Regions from separate parts of the Homo sapiens genome. Here all the other regions are linked to region 1. The links are contacts of gene promoters, found by promoter capture Hi-C in human tissues and cell types (Jung and others, 2019). All regions are on one chromosome and are shown on one strand. The core of a region is centred on a gene start or on the middle of the fragment in contact, and the rest is flanking DNA. Distances in the headings are between cores, read along the strand shown.

Region 1 (2,587 bases), core at 62-2,561:
CGACGCCAGCTGCCCGCGCCCGGAGCGGATGGGCCTGGCCCGGCTCCACCCCGCGGGGCTCCGCGGCTCAACGGGTCGCCCAGGGGCGCGGGCCCGGCTTCGTCCTCGACGGTGTCCGCCCCGGCCCTGGCTAGGCCGACGGCAGCCGGGTCCGGGTGGGGCTCGGGCTCGGGGCGCGCCCCTCCCATCTCTCCAGGGTCCGCGTCCTCGCTGCCGCCAGGTCCCGCCGAGATCCCCGGTGGCCCCGGCTCCAGCGGCTGCAGCGTCGCCATCGCCGGGCAGACCCCGGCCGACCTCAAAGCGACCGCGCGGTGGGGCCGGCGGGGACTGGGGCTGCGCAGCGCGGCCTGGGGTGGGGGCGGCGGGGCCCCCAGGAGCTCCTGGGAACCGAGGGTCCTGGGGCGGTCCCGCCCCGCACAGCTCCGGGTGAGCTTGGGGAGGGAGACACACTCTCAGCCCACCTCGCCCCGCCCGACAGCGCTCCGAGTCCTGAGTCCCCTCACCCCCATTCTACAGACACGAAGGTGAAGCCAAAGACGGGACGCTCACTTCCTGAGAATTTGCTGCCTGCTGCGTGGACACCACCGACCTATTGTTTACAGCGGTCAGGGACCCGCCCCCCAGACCCCCAGGACCGCGCTTCCGGGGGAGGAGGGTGTCCTCAGCAACGGTGACCCGCACCAAAGCCCTCCTCACCGGGGTCACCGCCACAGCCGGTGCGAGGCCCGCAGGGCGCTGGGGATGCGCGACCGACTCCCGTGAACCTGCTCCTCGCGCGTCAGGGAGAGCTGTGCACCCAACTAGGCTCTGTGAGGACGGACTGAGGTCGGCCTGCAGGCTGCGGCCCCGAAGGCAGGATTTGTGGAGAGATGATTCGCGAGCCTTGGAGGAAGGATGGGCTGTGCGTGCGTGGGTGCGTGCGTGTGTGTGTGTGTGTGTCTGTGACTTTTGTATGTTTATGTGAGACTGCGTACGTGCGCGCGTCTGTGTGTGCGCGCGCGCGTATATGTCTGTGTGTGTGCGTGCGTGTATAATTTCTAAATGGACGTCACCTTACACATCACAAGGTTAAAAAATGACCCCTGGGCTGTGCCAGGCCAAGCACGAAGAGAAAGCCCCGCCTGAAACTGCCTGGAGGCCCCCCGGCTGTCACTCTCGCCACATTCCGTGGAGTATGTGGTTGCAACTTCTGTCACTCAAGGTCTGATGGCGGGGAGATTGGAGCCGTATCCAATCAGCGCACTGGAGTGAAAACTGCCCAATCAGGCACGCAGCCAGAGAGGAGGCGGTGGCTTCCGGGATGTGGCGCGGGTCTTTGCGTCTGGCTACTACCAGACCGCGGGTTAGGGGCTTCATCTCTCTGCGTTCTCAGTTGTGGGAGGCCTTGGTGATTCGGCCACAGCTCAGCCTCCGTCGCTCTGTGACCTGCGGGTATTGGATGATTGGTAGCTAAGACTCCCGAATACTTCAGAAGTGGGGAAATGGTGAGTGTGCGGGGCAGGGCGTCCCAAGGCTGAGGAGGTCTCATCGGAGCTGGCGGGAAATGGCGGCGGGACCGAGTCTGCGAACGGAGTCCCCGCTGCCGCCGCTCAGCCCTGGGGCCTCAGTACCCTCCGGTGAGGGACCTGGGCTCCTGTCGGTCCCCGCACAGCGGCTCTGGCCCAGCCTGCAGCCCTCCTTGTGCAGCTCTGCGCCCGCAGCCCCGCACCTTCCCCAGGCTGTGGGGTGAGGAGTAGCTTATCTGGAAGCCGCCCGCGCGGCGTGCGCGATGCCGGCGTGGGAGGAGCTGTGGGAGAAGCTGTGGTCTGGGGATCCCGTCCCTGCTTTACCCTGTTCGGAATGAGATCGAGGCCCCATCAAAACAGAGTTCATGTGAGCAAATGGGGACTCATTAATGGGACAGCGCCGGCCGTGGCTCGTGGTTTGGGGGCTGCCAGCGGGTCTTGAAGGAAAAGCTTTTGTGAGGTGTGTGAGGAAGCGAAGCAAATCACCCGCCCGCTCCAACTTGCCCACCAGTCTCCTTGCCCTGTGCGCCTCCTCCGCGTGGCTGTTCCTGAGTGGCATCTTTTAGAATACGCTAGTGTGGGCGCGCACAGCGCTTCGCTGAGTTCTGTGAGTAGTTCTGTCATATTATTGAACTTGAGGAGGGTGTGGGCCCCTGGTTTGTAGACAGGTGTTCAGAAATGAAGACGGGTGTCCAGAGGCAGGGACTGGCGTCTGCAGGGGGGCAGCTGCGGGAAGAGCGCTGAGCTTGTGGGGTCTGTGCTGACTCCGGGTGGTGTCGTTAGTGAGTTGTTGGACAGCCCGTTGGGGTCGGAGCATTGACTGGTGTTGAGCAAACTCCTCACGTTTCCTGTCAGAAGAAAGACATGGCTGAGCCTGGGCTGGAGGGAGTCGCAGGTGTCCGCGGGAGACCAGCCGGGTTCTGCACATGCACTGTCCTGCTGCGCACTGTTCTGTTCCTCCAGGTCTCCTCCCGGGGAGAGAGGGCGCTGAGAACTTGGAGGAAAGGAGTTCTGAGAAACATCCCTTCCCTGCACCCTGCTGCCAGCCCCCACCCAATGCTAACCCACTCCTGAGCCCGCCC
Region 2 (2,587 bases), core at 26-2,525, 250 kb after region 1:
ACCGAGATGATCCAGCACTGTCCCAACTCCCCCCAAGTTCTCCTTTGCAGGCACCCTCTCCCTCCATTCTGGGCACAGGCAACCATGAACCACTATCTGTCACCGTAGCTTTAGTATAAAATTTCACATACATGGACTCAGGGAGCATAGAGTCTTTCCTGTCTGGCTTCTTTCCGCTGGCAAAATGCTTGGAGACTTTTCCACGTTGCTGCATGAATCAATGGATCATTTGTTTTCGTGGCTGAGCAGAATTCCACCAACATTTGTTTACTCATCCATGAAATGATGGACATTTGGTGTTTTTCCATTGAGATTGTTATGAATAATGCTGCTATTGTCATTCAAGGACAAGTCTTCTGTGAACATCTGTTTTCACTTCTCTTGGGTACATCCTTAGAAGTGGTATTGCTGGACTGTATCAAAAGTTAATATTTAACTTTCAGGAAACTTACAAACTGTTTTCCAGAGTGGCTGTACCATTTTGCATTCCCAGACCGAAGTGTGAAAGCTCCAGATGCCCCACGCCCTCACCAGCCCACGGTGTTGTCAGCCTTAATAGTGCTGACCATTCTGGTGGGTTTGCAGTGTATCTCATTGTGTTTTAATTTGCATTACCTTGACAACTAATGGCGTTGAGACTTTCATATATCTTTAGTAAAGAGTCCTTCCAAATCCTCTGCCGATTTTTTAAAAATTGGGTTGTCTTCTTGTAATTGAGTTGTAAGAATTCTTTATACGTTCTGAACATGTTATTTATTGGATAAATGTTTCGCAAGTATTTTCTCCCAGTCTTTGACCTACTTTTTCATCTTCTTATCAAGAGCTTTTAAAAAGCAAAACTTTACATTTTGATGACATCCAATTATTACTTTTTTCTTTTATGTTTTTTGTGTATTATTTAGGAAATAATTGTCTGAACCAAGATTACAAATATTTTCTTGTCTTTCAGAAGTTTTGTGGTTTTAGCTCCTAAGTGTACATCTGTGATCCATTTTGAATTAATTTTTGTATATGGTATGATGTAATGGTCAAGGTTTTTATTTTTGCATATGGATATACAGTTGTTCCAGTACCATTTCTTGAAAATAATTACCAGTACCATTAAGTTACCTTGGTACTTTTATTGAAAATCAATTGACTCTCAGTTCTGACCCATCGACTTATATGTCTGTTTTTTTTTGTTTTTTTTTTTTTTTTGAGATGGAGTCTCACTCTGTTGCCCAGGCTGGAGTGCAGTGGTGCTGTCTGGGCTCACTGCAACCTCTGCTCCCAGGTTCAAGCGATTCTCCTACCCCAGCCTCCTGAGTAGCTGGAATTACAGGCATGTGCCACCACACCCAGCTAATTTTTGTATTTTTAGTAGAGACGGAGTTTCACCATGTTGGTTAGGCTGGTCTTGAACTCCTGACCTCGTGATTCACCTGCCTCGGCCTCCCAAAGTGCTGGGATTACAGGCGTGAGCCACCGTGCCTGGCCATGTCTGTTCTTATGCTAACATCACAGTATCTGGATTATTGTAGCTCCATAATGAATGCTGGAATCAGGTAATGTGAGTCCTCCAACATTTTTACTCTTTTTCAAAATAATTTGACTATTTTAGGTCCTTTGCATGTCCATACAGATTTTAGACTCAGCTTGTCAATTTCTACCCAAAAATGTCTGATTGAGATTGTATTGAACCTATATCTTAATTTGGGGATAATTAGTATGTTAGCAATATTGAATCTTCTAACCTACATTTACTTAGTCTTCATTAATTTATCTCATCAATATTTTGTAGTTTTCAGTGCACAGGCTTTGCACACATTTTGTTAAATTTCCCTATAAGGATTTCATATTTTTATATTTTTCATTTTGTAAATGTTAATTTAAAGGAATAAGACACCCTCTTTTTTTTCTTTCTTTTTTTCTGGTTTTTTTGTTTGTTTGTTTGTTTTGTTTTTATAGAGACAAGGTCCCACTATTTTGCCCAGGCTGGTCTCGAACTCCTGGGCTCAAGCAGTCCTCCCACCTCAGCCTCTCAAAGTGCTGGGATTACAGGCAGGAGCCACCACACCTGGCCAGATACCCTCATTAGATTTTTGTGTCTATTCTGATTTCTTTAAAGTAACATTTACTTTAATAAATGTTACTATATAAACATATAGCATTAATATAAAATTGTTTGTTACTGGTACATATAAATACAATTAACTTTTTAGATTGCCCTCTTACCCTGTGACCTTGTTAAATTCACTAATTCTAGCAGCCGCTTTTGTGTATTTGGTAAGATTTTCTACATAGACAATCATGCCACAGGTAAATAGAACCCATTTTACTGCTTCCTTTCCAAGCTGCATGCTTTTTTTTTTTCTTGCTTTATTGCATTGGCTAGGTCCTCATGCATAATAGTGAATAGAAGTAATGAGAGTAAACACCCTTGCCTTGTTTCTTGTCTTAGTGGGAAACCATTTGGTCTTTCACCCTTAAGTATAATGTAAGCTGTAGTTTTTTTGTAGATGCCTTTTATCAGGTTGAAATCTATTTCTGTTTTGAGTGTTTTTATCATGAACCGTTGATGAATCTTGTCAAATGCTTTTTTCCTCGT
Region 3 (2,587 bases), core at 30-2,529, 250 kb before region 1:
TTCTGAACAAAAACTTTACAAATGTGAAGAATGTGGCAAAGCCTTTACTCGGTCCACAGCCCTGAATGAACATAAGAAAATTCATTCTGGAGAGAAACCCTACAAATGCAAAGAATGTGGCAAAGCCTATAACTTATCCTCAACCCTTACTAAACATAAGAGAATTCATACTGGAGAGAAACCCTTCACATGTGAAGAATGTGGCAAAGCCTTCAATTGGTCCTCATCCCTTACTAAACATAAGATAATTCATACTGGAGAGAAATCCTACAAATGTGAAGAATGTGGCAAAGCTTTTAATCGGCCCTCAACCCTTACTGTACACAAGCGAATTCATACTGGCAAGGAACATAGTTGAATGACATTTCTAGTAATCTCTAATTCCAGTGTCTTTACACAGCAAATAAATTGGAGAATATTGCTCCCATATAAACTTGTATTATTTTTCTTATTTTAAATTTTTTAAAATTTCTGTAGGTACATAGTATGTGTATCTATTCATGGCTTATTTGGATTATTTTGATACAGGCATATGACATGTAATTATCACATCAGAGTAAATGAGTTATTCTTCACAAGCATTTGTTCTTTGTATTACACACAGTCCAGTTATACACTTTAATTTTTTTTTTTTTTTTTTTTTTTGAGACAGAGTCTCGTTCTGTCGCCCAGGCTGGAGCGCAGTGGTGCGATCTTGGCTCACTGCAACCTCCACCTGCTGGGTTCAAGCAATTCTCCTGCCTCAGCCTCATGAGTAGCTGTGACTACCGGCAGGTGCCACCATGCCCAGCTAATTTTTTGTATTTTCAGTAGAGACAGGGTTTCACAATGCTGGCCAGGCTGTTCTCGAACTCCTGAGCTCATGATCCACCCACCTCGGCCTCCCAAAGTGCTGGGATTACGGGTGTGAGCCATCGTACCTGGCCACTTTAATTATTTTTAAATGTGCAATTATTTTTTTACTACAGGTTATTTTATGATTATAATAAGTATATGAGTATAATTATAATTCACACATTTCTAAGTCATGAATGCTTTTAAAAAATGTTCCATATTTATCTTTGAACATGTAGCATCTCTTTCCGCAAATAAATGCAGACTTTGGTTTTGATTTACATGGAGTTAAATATGTAAATGTATTGCTCTAAAGATAAAATTTAGGTGTAAGAAAATTATGGGGCAAGCAGTTGAGTTTCTGTGAGAGTTTGTATCTATTTTCCAAGGAAAATAGCAATATTGGAACAAAGATTATTTTAATAAGGTGGATATTTTACTAGAAATCTAGAAACCTAAAACATTCTGAAATCAAATTTATATTTTCTTCTATTACTGTAAAATTTAACGGATCATTGTTGAGACTCTCCCATGCAAATTCTGTTTTTATTTGTCTGTTACTCATGCTAGAGCTATAATTGACTTCTTTCTTATTTTTTTTATTTTTACTTTATGAAGTATTTATTATGTGAGCTGGTCAGAAATTATAATTTTATAAAATTTAGTAGCAAACACAAAATATTTAGATGCAAGTTCATAATTCGTGTATTAAGTTATATTTTAGTTAGGACATTTCATTTTATTGCTTTAGTTGGATAACCCTATATGAGCCGTTTAGTTATTTGTTTCACTTTTTATAATTGACATAAATGAGTTTATTGTGCCAATTTTTTCAGGTAAGTACTGGTGAAACTTAATAATTCATGGGATGTTTTGATATATAATTATAGTAAGCATAAGAAAGTACTGGGTAATAGATGCTCCATAATTAGCCATAAATATTATTCTTTCTGGAGTGAGTTTGTAGCTCCAAGTAAGAGAATGAAAATGTCTATAGTGAAGAAATGGCAGTCTGCATGTGGAGAGAACATCTGTTACCAGGCTGCAAAACTGACTCATTCTGAATTTAAAGAGAACCTCTGATTTTATTTTCTAATTATCTTTAGTTTTGGAATATCTTTATGGTTTATTCCCAGCTATGTATGCCTCACACCCCTTCTTCTTTGTGTTATGGCTACAGTCTTCTCACTGTTCTCTTTTTGCCATGTAATTTCATACAGACTTTCTATGTTCTGATTAGAAGTTTGAAATTTTTCAGTGTGGTAAATTGTTTTTAACTGGAGTGTTTGAGGTTATTTATAGCTTATCAATGCAATGTTTAGATCACTTAATTGAGATAAGTACTTTACTGTCTGCAGGGGCATTGGTGGAACATGAAGTGAAACACCAGGACCTGGTTCTGGAGTTATGGAGGGCAACTCCAATCCCCAGTGTGGGCCCCAGCCTCTGGCACACTGGTGCATGCCAAAAAGTACTCCTCAGGCCACCACTACTCTAATCAGTGCCCTTGCTACCATCACTGTTGTCATCTGTGCTTGCATTCCCCTGGTGCCTGGAAGTTCTGTTCTCCAGGTGGCAGATGACTGCTCCCGGCATTCACACGTTTTTATTCCATCTGTGGAGGAGTACTTTATAATTCTGACTGTCTTCTAAAAATCATTTCACTTAAGATAGCTCATTTAAATGGGATTATATACTCTTTGTCACTATGTTTCTGGTATATTTCACTAAATATGATGTCTTAAAGTTTTAT
Region 4 (2,587 bases), core at 40-2,539, 230 kb before region 1:
GTGCCTGGGAGAAGGAGGTGGGAAAGGAAATATAGGCAGAGAACTTCCTGGGGTTAAGGCATCTGACATTTTTCACGGAGGTTATGCAAGGGAGAGAGAGGAATCAGACGTTAATTTTCAATTAGGTAGAGAAAAACTCAACGGAGAAATAATTAGCATCTGGATGAGTGGCAGGGGAGATTGCTGATTGAGAGGGGCTGGGTTAATGTAAAGACCTCCACGGGAGTGGTTCACCAGCCCACTCAGAGGATAACAGAAGTCCAGGGGTGCCCAAGGAAAGCACAGAAGAGGCCTGAGTTGTGAGGGTCCCTGACAGCTGAGCCTCTAGTGGCCGGGACAAGATGAGGTCCGAATAGTGGGTGAAGAAACTGGACAGTTGGACCCAAGAGGAAAAAGACCAGGAAGCAAAACGGAGCCTACTGTAGGCTACAGAGTGGCAGAGCTGGCACTCATGTGGCTCCTTGGTTAGGCACCCTGCCTTTGGGCACAAGGAGCTCCATTGACAGTGAGGCCACTGTGACTTGGAAGCAGACACTGGTTCACGCTGGTCAGGAGACTGTCTTCCTCTGTGGCCCTGGCTCGCTATTCTCCAAGGTGCTGGTGACCTTGAGCAAGTCATCGTCCCTCCTGTGGGCTTTCAGTTAGGACACAGATTAGTGGAAGAGCGAGAGAGAGACAGAGGTGTTTCTGTGCTTCCATCCTTTCCCTCCCCTGCCTCTTCAGTGCCTGCCTGATAAAGTGGTGCCTGTTGGTCACACTCGCTACTCATTAAGTCACCTTTCCTGGGGGAAATTCCTCGCCTTGGGTATGGGAGGTTCCATTATTAACCCTTTAGGAATTGCAGAGGGTCTAATGAATCTGTGTGTGGCCATTTCAGGACCCCTTCAAACCTACACCTCCAGACCCCTAGATCACCCTGGGTTAATATTGGGACAGGAGGAAGAAGCAATGACAGGAGAGAAAGAAAGGAAGGGAGGAGGCACAAAAGGGGATCGATCTGGGGTTTGGTGATGGCAGAGGGAGAGGGTCACAAAAGATCCTGGAGGTGAGGAGTCAGCCCAGGGAAGAGATTCCAGAGAGAGGGAAGGCTGTGCAGGGGCCCCAGTGACACTGGCCAGAGCAAAGGGCAAGGGGGAGGGAGTGGAAGAGGTGAGAAAGTTAGAAAGGAAGGGAAGGCCCAGATCAAACCTCGAGGCTCCCTTCTCCGCAGACCATTGTGAAGGTTTTCACTATTCAAAGTCCCAGAGGGCTGTGATATTGGTTTCCAACAGCTCAGTTTGGCCCAGTATCTGAGCTCAGAAGAGACTGCAGGGTCCTTGGGCAGAAACAGGGAGACCGATTCTGGCCCCTCACACTGTGTGCCAGGGCTACTGAGACAATGATGCAGGCCTGGGTGGGAGGACCCACACTGATGCTGACTTTGTTCTCTGGATTTTCACGTCTCCAAGGCAGTTTTCTCACCCATCAAATGAGAACACCACCATCTGTTGCAGAGCATCTTTGAGGAAGACACAGTGGCAGAGGACCTGACCCATTCAAGGAAAATATCTTGGGCCCCAAAGTAACTAAGCTAAAGGGAAAATTCAAGCTGGCAATGCTTAGGGCAAACCTGCCTTCCATTCAATTCAAAGTCATCCCTCTGCTCACTGAAATAAATGCATATCTGATTTCCTCCTTTAAAAAGGCTAATCAGAAACTCAAAAGAAGGCAATGGATTGTCTCTCACCTACCTCTGTCCTGGAAACCCCCTCCCCACTTCCAGTTGTCTCGCTTTTGCTTGGAGTTGTCCTACCTTTCTGGACTGAACCAGTGTTCATCTTACATATGTTGATTGATGTCTTATGCCCCTCAAAATGTATAAAACCAAGCTGTGCTCTGACCACCTTGGGCACATGTTGTCAGGACCTCCTGAGGCTGTGTCATAGACATGCCATCCACAACCTTGGCAAAATAAACTTTTTAAATTAACTGTCTCAAATTTCAGGGGTTCAGAGGGAACAGAACGAAGGCAATGGGGGAGCGAAACATTGCCCCATGTTTATGCAGTGCCGCTGTGTGTGGGGCATGTGCAGGTACCTGGGGGGACATAAACAATCCTAAGACTGGGAAAATGCACGACACTTTGGTAAATCTCCAGGCCCAGGAGTCTCAGAATGAAAGGCTTCTAGGAGGCAGAGGTAGGCCTGGAGATTGGGAAAATGGGAAAATATTCAGGGGAAGGTGTGCCAGGTGGATGGACTTGTGTGAGCAAAGAACAGGAAGGTTGAAAGTATAGGGCAGGAGGGGGAGATGGTCAGAAAGTCAATTTGGAGTCAGGTTGGGAAGAGCCCTTGATGCCACGCTCCAGTCTGGAGTTTATTTTGTAGCAGCAAAGCGCTTCTGATGGGTTTAGAATAGAGTACTAAAGCGAAGACATAGAGTCCAGCCAGAAACCCCAAGGGAGGATCCTCACGGCCTCTGGTGAGGAGGGCTTACTCCTCCACAGAGGCCATTGCTCCATCTCCCAGTCCTTCTGACACTCTCTCTTATTCCTGCACCTACAAAGTTTGGGATCCTGCTGTGGCTCACAGTGGAGCCTCCTCCACAT
Region 5 (2,587 bases), core at 56-2,555, 190 kb before region 1:
GCAATTTACTGATAACCTTATAGATGTTCCCTTATATGAGAAGAATCTCTTTTTCTTGCTTCTTTTAAGAATCTCCCATTGTCTTTGAATTTTTGGCAGTTTAATTATAATTGTGTCCTGGGCAAGTTTTTTATCAAGTTCTTCTTGCTACTGATATTTTGAGCCTCATAAAACTGAATGTCTGTATTTCTTCCAAGATTGGGAAAATTTTAACACATTATATCTTTAAACAATAAAAAAAAGTTTTCTCTCTTTTGAACCTCCTAAAATATGTACCTTTTTATGGTTTATCATATAGCATGGGTTCCAAATTCTTTATTCACACTTTCATTTTTAAAAAATTTCTAATTAGAAACTTTCAAATGACTTACGTTTGCTGGGGTGTTTTTTTTTTATATAGCTGAGTCTCCTGTTAAAGCTTTCTCTTAAATTTTTCAGTTCTACTATTTTTACTTTGACTCCAGCATATCTATTTGGTTCTTTTTTAATGGTTTCTTTTTCTGTATTGTGATTTTGTTCATGCATTGTTGCAAAAAAATTTAGTAATCTGTGTACTTTTGCATCTTACTGAGTTTTTATTTTTATTTTTTATTTTTCTTGAGACAGAGTCTCACTCTGTTGCTCAGGCTAGAGTGCAGTGGGGTGATCTTGACTCACTGCAACCTTCACACTCCAGATTCAAGCGATTCTTTTGCCTCAGCCTCCCAATTAGCTGTGACTACAGGTGTGCACCACCACACCTGGCTAATTCTTGTATTTTTAGTAGAAAGAGGCTTTCACCATGTTGGTCAGACTGGTGAGATGCTTGAAGATTATCTTGAATTCTCTGTTAGTCATTTTTTAGATCTGTGTTTTATTGTAAGTGGTTACTGGAGCATTTTTAGTTTCCTTTGGTGGTGTTATATTTGCCTGATCCTTCATGATCCATTAAGGATGTCCTTGCGTCTGAAGAAGCAAATGCCTCTTTCAGTTACTATAAACTAGTTTGGGGAGGTAAATATCTTCTTCTGTTGGATCTCTGGACTGATGCGATTTCTGCTGATATTGCAGTTAAGTGCATTGGAGCCAGGTCATGTAACTACTACCGGGCCTGCCATGAAGTTCATGCTTGGCAGACCTGTAATCAGGGCATCAGACAGTTGTGGTTTCGTCTGTTTTCTGAGAACACCAAACTTTCTTCAAGATGTTGATCAATATGACTAGTGCTCAGAAAAAAAAAATCCCAGCACTTTGGGAGGCCAAGGCAGGTGAATTGCCTCAGCTCAGGAGTTCGAGACCAGCCTGGGCAACATGGTGAAACCCCGTCTCTACTAAAATACAAAAAATTAGCCAGTCGTGGCAGTGTGCGCCTGTAGCCCCAGCTACTTGGGAGGCTGAGGCAGGAGAATTGCTTGAACCCGGGAGGTGGAGGTTGCACGGAGCTGAGATCACACCACTGCACTCCATCCAGCCTGGGCGACAGAGCGAGATTCCATCTCCAGGAAAAAAAACCCTCCAATTATATCTGGGGGTGCTGATACAGTAATGTTATCTGGTGTGACTCCTGTGAGGCTTTTGCTGGTTTTTGGAAATGCTCTAATCCAGTCATTGGACAGGTTCCTGGAAGAGCAGGGTTGGTCCTTGATCACAGCTGAAAAGGTGTGGAACTGATTCATAGGGCTGCTTCAGGATACACAGCTAAGACTTCAGCTCTGTTTCTGGGTTCACGGCATTTATGCCTTCAGATTTCTGGGCGGGCAGGACTGCTCCCAGACTCTAGCGGACAGGGAATGGCGCTGGTTACAGGGCTACTTCAAGATTCATAGTGGGAATAAAGTCAGCCAGCATGCCTATAGGTGTGCTTTTTGGCAGGTTTCAGGCTAGGAAAAACTGCCCCTGGACTTTGGTTGCATGGACTCGGAGCCAGGTTATAGTGCCACATCAAAATCCACCATCAGGGCCAGGTGCAGTGACTCACATCTGTAATCCCTGCACTTCGGGAGGCCAAGGTGGGCGGACCACCTGAGGTCAGGAGTTCGAGACCAGCCTGGCCAAATTGGCCAAATCCCATCTCTACTAAAAATACAAAAATTTGCTGGGCATGGTGGCGGGCATCTGTAATCCCGCTTACTCAGGAGACTGAGGCAGCAGAATTGCTTGAACCTGGGAGCTGGAGGTTGCAGTGAGCAAATATCACGCCATTGCACTCTGCAGCCAAGGTGACAGAGTGAGACTCTGTCTCAAAAAAAAAAAAAAAAAAAAAAATCCACCATTGAATAAATATTGGCAGGCCTACATCCAGGGGCACAGATGGATGTTTCTGTGGGTCTCTGTGTGTGCAGGATTTCTTCCACACTATGACTGATCAGGGAAAGGGGTGGGTTTTGGGCTAATTTATAGATCACAGGCAGGACCAACATGTCAAGGCCTTTCACCTGAGACACAGGACATTATGAATTCTCCTAAGTGTCTTGGCAGATGGTGATAGTGGCAGGAACAAAACCAAATGATCTATAGCTATGTTTACAGTGAGAATTATTCATATTTCATTCGGTAGCTGGGACTATGATGGGCAAGCATGCCACTCAAGCAAGTGCATGCCCTCTTA
Region 6 (2,587 bases), core at 58-2,557, 190 kb after region 1:
TCTCAGTGAGGTCGGTGCTCTGCAGAGGGGTCTTCTGGCTGTTAGGCAGCCTATTTTCACAGAACAGAGAAGCATGTTGTGGAACAGGTATGACCCCAGCTTACTAATTGTGTACCTGTTTTTTTTTTCATACTTATATGAAAGACTACATACTTAAAATACTGGTGATTATATTTAGGACCTGAAATCATAAGATTGTGGTCTTGCTTTTTACTTATTTTTGTATCTTAGCGATGTCTAGAGTTAATAAGTGTTGCTTTTCTAATCACAGCAAGTCAAGGTGACTGCTGAGGGCTGTGGCCAGCCTGAGGGGTGGCCGTGGGGCTCCGGGGGCACCCCTGGAAGTACTTCCTGGCTGAGTGGGGAGTAAGGGGTGGGAGTTAGGGTGACCTGAGGCCTGGCTGAGGCAGTGAGAGTGTAGCAGGCCGTCATACGGGGCCGGGGCCTGGGGCAGAGAGGATGCTGACGTGCAGGTACCAGCGGTGTTCTGTGGAGATGTCTCAAAGGCTGTTGACTTTGGAATCTGAGACTTAGGGCTCATCCAAATGGATGTTACATTTGCGGGTGTGTGTTTAAGGTGCAGCGTATGAATAAATTCATTTCCTCACAGATCTATACACTGAATTTCAGCATCACTCATCTCAAGACCTTGGCCCTCTTCCCTTTCCTGGCCTGCTTCCTGCAGCATGTAATTTGCTAGTGTCCAGAACTAGCCAGTGTGCCTTTTCTTTCCACACGCACTGCCTGGTTCACCTTCTTCCTGTAAAGTGCCTCCGTCCTTTGTCCCCATCTGTCCCGATCGTAAATAGGTCCTGGCTACAGAGGCATCCTGGCTCTAGATCATTGTAACAGCTGCCGCTCTCCTGTCAGTCCCCCGGGCCCTGCCATCCACTGAGAGTCTGAAATCCTTTGCACTCAGTTCCTGACTGTCCTCCACTCAGAAGCCCAGGGATGGCTGGAGTGGAGGTGGAAGCGGGGTGGGCCTGGTTGAGCAGGATCAGACTCTGCCCGGCCAGGGGAGGAGGAGGAGGACCCACCAAAGGCCCTGGATGATGCCCCTCCTGCTCATCACCCTGCCTGCCCTAGCATCCTCTCGACACAGAAACCAGTCCCTTTTCTTCTATGAAACTTCTCCAGTGATTGTGACCTTTGCTGATTTCTCCCTTCTTTGAATGCAGATGGGCCTATAATTCACTCTTAACTTAGCACACACCTTGGCCTGTGGGGGTTGCCAGGTACCTGACCCCAGCTCCTCAGCCAGGATGTGGGCCCCTCCTGGCAGCCACACTGCCAGGCACATGGTATACAGTGCTCAGGCTGTTTGAACTAAACTGATCAAAGTTTACTTTCTTAATGTAAAAGCTTTCTAAGAAAATCTAATATAGGAAAATTCAGTTTTCACAATATTATGATATTAAAAATTACGATTATTTTAAATGATCAGATTTGTAGGCTGTGTGAAGCATTTCATTTACAAAATTTATTTAAAATATTATGTTTTAGGAACATACGTGTTTTGTAAGATGAAATTTTTTGGTAATTGTATCCTTTACAGATAACTATCATAAGAGTACTTAATTTTACTGAGCTTACTGTGTGCCAAGCACTCCCTGCATTCCCTTGCTTAATTCCTAGGATGACTTTGTGAAGTGTAGAACCATTTTCTCTCCATTTCACAAATAGCAAAGCTGAGGGTCAGAAGTCTTGATTGACACGCCCGAGTAGGAGAGCTAGTGAGCAGAGCAGCAGGGCTCGGACTGAGCAGAGCTCTGCCTTTTCTCAGAGCCCGCGGGTTGGATGACTGCACCACTGCACGCGTGTGTGCCTGTGAATGTGCAGGTGCTTATTTACCTATAACTGCATGTATGTGTACCTGTAAATGTGCAAATCCTTCTTTAAATCTGCTCAGTTGTGCAATGAACATTTATGAACTTACAGCAGTTTCTTAGAGTTGACTCTTATACTAGTGCGTTGGGTTTTTTTTAATTAACTGCAAAGCAGGCGGGCCACGAGGGCACCGCTTGGGTCGTGCCACCAGATGAGCCAAATGAGCAAGATCTCCCCGAAGCCAGCCCCAGCGGAAGAGTCTGCACGAGGACACACCTGTGGGCCTGTGGCGGCGGCTCCTCAGGGCTGCTGTGCGGAGGAGACATGCCCACTGCCATGACAGGACCTGGGGGGTAGGGAGGGTGCCGCGGCTCCTTTAGTCAGCAGTGCTGGACATTTACTGGTTCCCTGGGTAGATAGGTGTGTTTTTCATGGGAAAATGTTTTTGAATTTTTCTCACTGGTGCTAATGAATCTAACTTGTTTTGCTCTTTTTTAGGGGTATTATTGAAGCTCGTTTTGTTTATGTCTTTGTCCTTGGCATTCTGTTCACGGGCACCAAAGACTTACTTAAATCTCAAGTCATTGCTGCAGACTTCAAACTCAAGACTGTAGGTTTATGGGAGATATATAGTGGATTAGTTCTTCTGGCAGCCTTGCTCTTTAGACCACATAATCTTCCGGTCTTAGCATTTAGCCTCTTGATTCAGACTCTAATGACTAAATTCATCTGGAAGCCCCTGAGACACGATGCAGCTGAG
Region 7 (2,587 bases), core at 34-2,533, 160 kb after region 1:
GGGCGACAGAGCGAGACTCCGTCTCAAAAACAAACCAACAAAAAAAAAACAGGCCGGGCGCGGTGGCTCATGCCTGTAAATCCCAGCACTCTGGGAGGCCGAGGCGGGCGGATCACGAGGTCAGGAGTTCAAGAACAGCCTGACCAACATGGTGAAACCCCGTCTCAACTAAAAATACAAAAATTAGCCGTGCGTGGTGGCACGCACCTGTAATCCCAGCTACTCAGGAGGCTGAGGCAGGAGAATTGCTTGAACCCGGGAGGCAGAGGTTGCAGTGATCTGAGATCACGCCACTGCATTCCAGCCTGGGCGACAGAGTGAGATTTCATCTGAAAAGAAAAAGAAAAAAAAAAAAAAAAAAAAAAAAAGAAGGACATTGGTTCTGTCCAGAAAGGCGGGGGCAACTTGGAACAGGGAGGGGGCTTCCAGGTCACAGGTAGGTGACAGACAAATGGTTGCAGTTTCTGGGTTTCTGATAAGCCTCTCCAAAGGAGGCTATCAATATGCATTTATCTCAGTGAGCAGAGGAATGACTTTGAATAGAATGGGAGGCAGGTTTGTCCTGAGCAGTTCCGAGCTTGTCTTTTCCCTTAGTTTAGTAATTTTGGGGCCCCAAGATTTTCCTTTCAGAAAAAAGAAAATGTGGTATATATACACAATGGAGTACTATTCAGCTCTAATAAAAGAATGAAACCCTATCATTTGCCACAACACGGATAAACCTGAGGATATCATGTAAGCAAAATAAGACACAGAAAGACAAATACCTCATGATCTCACTCATGTGGCATCTTTAAAACGAAGTTAATCATTAAGATATTTACCAGTTGTCTGAGGTATTGGGTTGAATTTTCTTTTTTTTTTTTTTTTTGAGACGCAGTCTCGCTCTGTTGCCAGGCAGAAGTGCAGTGGCGCGATCTCGGCTCACTGCAACCTCCGCCTCCCAGGTTCAAGCGATTCTCCTGCCTCGGCCTCCCGAGTAGCTGGGACGACAGGCACCCGCCATCACGCCCCGCTAATTTTTTGTATTTTTAGTTGAGACGGGGTTTCACCATGTTGGCCAGGATAGTCTCGATCTCCTGACCTCGTGATCCGCCCGCCTCGGCCTCCCAAAGTACTGGGATTAAAGGCGTGAGCCACTGCACCCTGCCTTCCAAATTAAAAACTTTTTAAAACCTCGTACCTCGCCGTGGGCGGCGACCGTCGCGGACTCGCCGGGAAGACGGCCCCACGGAGCCGGGAACACCGCCCGCTGTTCGTATGTCCGAGGTGACGCCCCGCTGTGGCGGGCTGGCGGAAGTGACGCGCTGCTGTGGCGCGCCGGCGGACGTGACGCCACTGTCGCTGCGACGATAAGGCCTGGCGTTATTGCTTAGAGGCGGCTACCTGGAGCCGGAAGCGCGGCTGCAGCAGGGCGAGGCTCCAGGTGGGGTCGGTTCCGCATCCAGCCTAGCGTGTCCACGATGCGGCTGGGCTCCGGGACTTTCGCTACCTGTTGCGTAGCGATCGAGGTGCTAGGGATCGCGGTCTTCCTTCGGGGATTCTTCCCGGCTCCCGTTCGTTCCTCTGCCAGAGCGGAACACGGAGCGGAGCCCCCAGCGCCCGAACCCTCGGCTGGTACGGACCCCTCCCCGGCGTCTCCGCTCCCCTGACCCCACATCCCCTAGAAGACCTTTTTTCTGAGCCTCGCTGCTCGGATTTCTTCTCGGCGCTCCCCGGTGGTCTCTTCCATTATGGTCCCCACCTCAGAAATTTTTTTTAACCGCTCCAGCGTCTCTTTTCTGTATTCTTACAACTTTGTGGCAACCACCTCTACTGGCCCCACTTCGACCTTCCTTCCTGATCACCACAAAGTAAGCTGTGTCCATACCTGGGATCCAGCCTCTCCACTTCTACTCGTCCAGAGCTCCCGCCCCTTTCCTGAGCAGCCTTTGGGTCACTCCCCGTTATAGGCGCCCTTTTTGCCCCCTAGCACACAACAGATAAGACCCCTGCCGATCCCCTCGCGTTTTGGTCTCTTATATTCCTCCAAGATGTTTTCCCTGCCTAGGGGCTAAGGCCTCTCTGCGTTAGGCCTCTTCCTAGGCTTCACCTACCCAGCCATATACAGCAAGTAAAGGCGCCCTGGTTCTGGACCACTTGCACACATCGCCAGCCGCTGACCATGTAAACGCAGTATGTAAACGCCCAGCCATCCCGTAGCTGCAGCTCTGCGTTTTAGGTCAAGCTCCCTAAATGTCCCATTCCAGGACCCTTACGTAGGGATTCTCCTACCCCAGTACTCTTCACCATACTGAGGATAATTCACTGCTTGCTACTGTGGGTCCCTAAGATTACTCCTGTTAACCCCCGTCCTTTCCCCCCAGCACTACCTACCAAGTACAAGTCGCCTCCTTTTGGGTTGGGTTATGTAGATATCGCAGGGTATGTGCTGGAGAAGTAGGTAGAAGCTAGATTGTGAAGGTGCTTGATGCTAAGGAAAGTTTAGAGTTCAATTTCCTTTTTTTTCTTTCAAACACTTAGGAGCCAGTTCTAACTGGACCACGCTGCCACCACCTCTCTTCAGTAAAGTTGTTATTGTTCTGAT

Evidence for each region. Contacts are between HindIII fragments. The study calls those that stand out against the background at their distance.
Region 2: a fragment that was not itself captured here is called in contact with the fragment with the promoter of ZNF141 in region 1 in 1 of the 25 tissues and cell types used here (mesendoderm cells).
Region 3: a contact is called between a fragment that was not itself captured here and the fragment with the promoter of ZNF141 in region 1, in 4 of the 25 tissues and cell types used here (dorsolateral prefrontal cortex, lymphoblastoid cells, mesendoderm cells and 1 more).
Region 4: a fragment that was not itself captured here is called in contact with the fragment with the promoter of ZNF141 in region 1 in 1 of the 25 tissues and cell types used here (dorsolateral prefrontal cortex).
Region 5: a fragment that was not itself captured here is called in contact with the fragment with the promoter of ZNF141 in region 1 in 2 of the 25 tissues and cell types used here (H1 embryonic stem cells and dorsolateral prefrontal cortex).
Region 6: a contact is called between a fragment that was not itself captured here and the fragment with the promoter of ZNF141 in region 1, in 2 of the 25 tissues and cell types used here (H1 embryonic stem cells and dorsolateral prefrontal cortex).
Region 7: the fragment with the promoter of ZNF721 here is called in contact with the fragment with the promoter of ZNF141 in region 1 in 5 of the 25 tissues and cell types used here (adrenal gland, dorsolateral prefrontal cortex, heart right ventricle and 2 more).

What each region holds. Positions count from the first base shown.
Region 1 is chr4:336,503-339,089 of GRCh38, forward strand. It overlaps ZNF141 (zinc finger protein 141), which reads left to right and starts at 1,312. Exons shown (of 4, transcript NM_003441.4): 1 at 1,312-1,484. The coding sequence starts at 1,482. RefSeq lists silencers at 22-81, 312-421 and enhancers at 436-951, 1,057-2,017, 1,062-1,161. The HindIII fragment of the contact is 20,671 bases long and covers 1-2,587 here.
Region 2 is chr4:581,658-584,244 of GRCh38, forward strand. All of the region lies in intron 2 of LOC105374338 (a long non-coding RNA gene), which reads left to right. Among named protein-coding and RNA genes, the nearest start is that of TMEM271, 6.7 kb to the left of the region's middle. The HindIII fragment of the contact is 8,335 bases long and covers 1-2,587 here.
Region 3 is chr4:87,094-89,680 of GRCh38, forward strand. ZNF595 (zinc finger protein 595) reads left to right here. Exons shown (of 4, transcript NM_182524.4): 4 at 1-1,115. The coding sequence ends at 358. Among named protein-coding and RNA genes, the nearest start is that of ZNF595, 35 kb to the left of the region's middle. The HindIII fragment of the contact is 4,411 bases long and covers 1-2,587 here.
Region 4 is chr4:109,486-112,072 of GRCh38, forward strand. No RefSeq gene overlaps it. Among named protein-coding and RNA genes, the nearest start is that of ZNF718, 14 kb to the right of the region's middle. The HindIII fragment of the contact is 4,168 bases long and covers 1-2,587 here.
Region 5 is chr4:146,390-148,976 of GRCh38, forward strand. All of the region lies in intron 3 of ZNF718 (zinc finger protein 718), which reads left to right. Among named protein-coding and RNA genes, the nearest start is that of ZNF718, 23 kb to the left of the region's middle. The HindIII fragment of the contact is 4,844 bases long and covers 1-2,587 here.
Region 6 is chr4:528,111-530,697 of GRCh38, forward strand. PIGG (phosphatidylinositol glycan anchor biosynthesis class G (EMM blood group)) reads left to right here. Exons shown (of 13, transcript NM_001127178.3): 11 at 2,326-2,587. Among named protein-coding and RNA genes, the nearest start is that of PIGG, 30 kb to the left of the region's middle. The HindIII fragment of the contact is 6,945 bases long and covers 1-2,587 here.
Region 7 is chr4:497,873-500,459 of GRCh38, forward strand. It overlaps ZNF721 (zinc finger protein 721), which reads right to left and starts at 1,284. Exons shown (of 3, transcript NM_133474.4): 1 at 1,184-1,284. It overlaps PIGG (phosphatidylinositol glycan anchor biosynthesis class G (EMM blood group)), which reads left to right and starts at 1,338. Exons shown (of 13, transcript NM_001127178.3): 1 at 1,338-1,617; 2 at 2,524-2,587. The coding sequence starts at 1,464. RefSeq lists enhancers at 570-1,435, 999-1,478, 1,436-2,299. The HindIII fragment of the contact is 23,753 bases long and covers 1-2,587 here.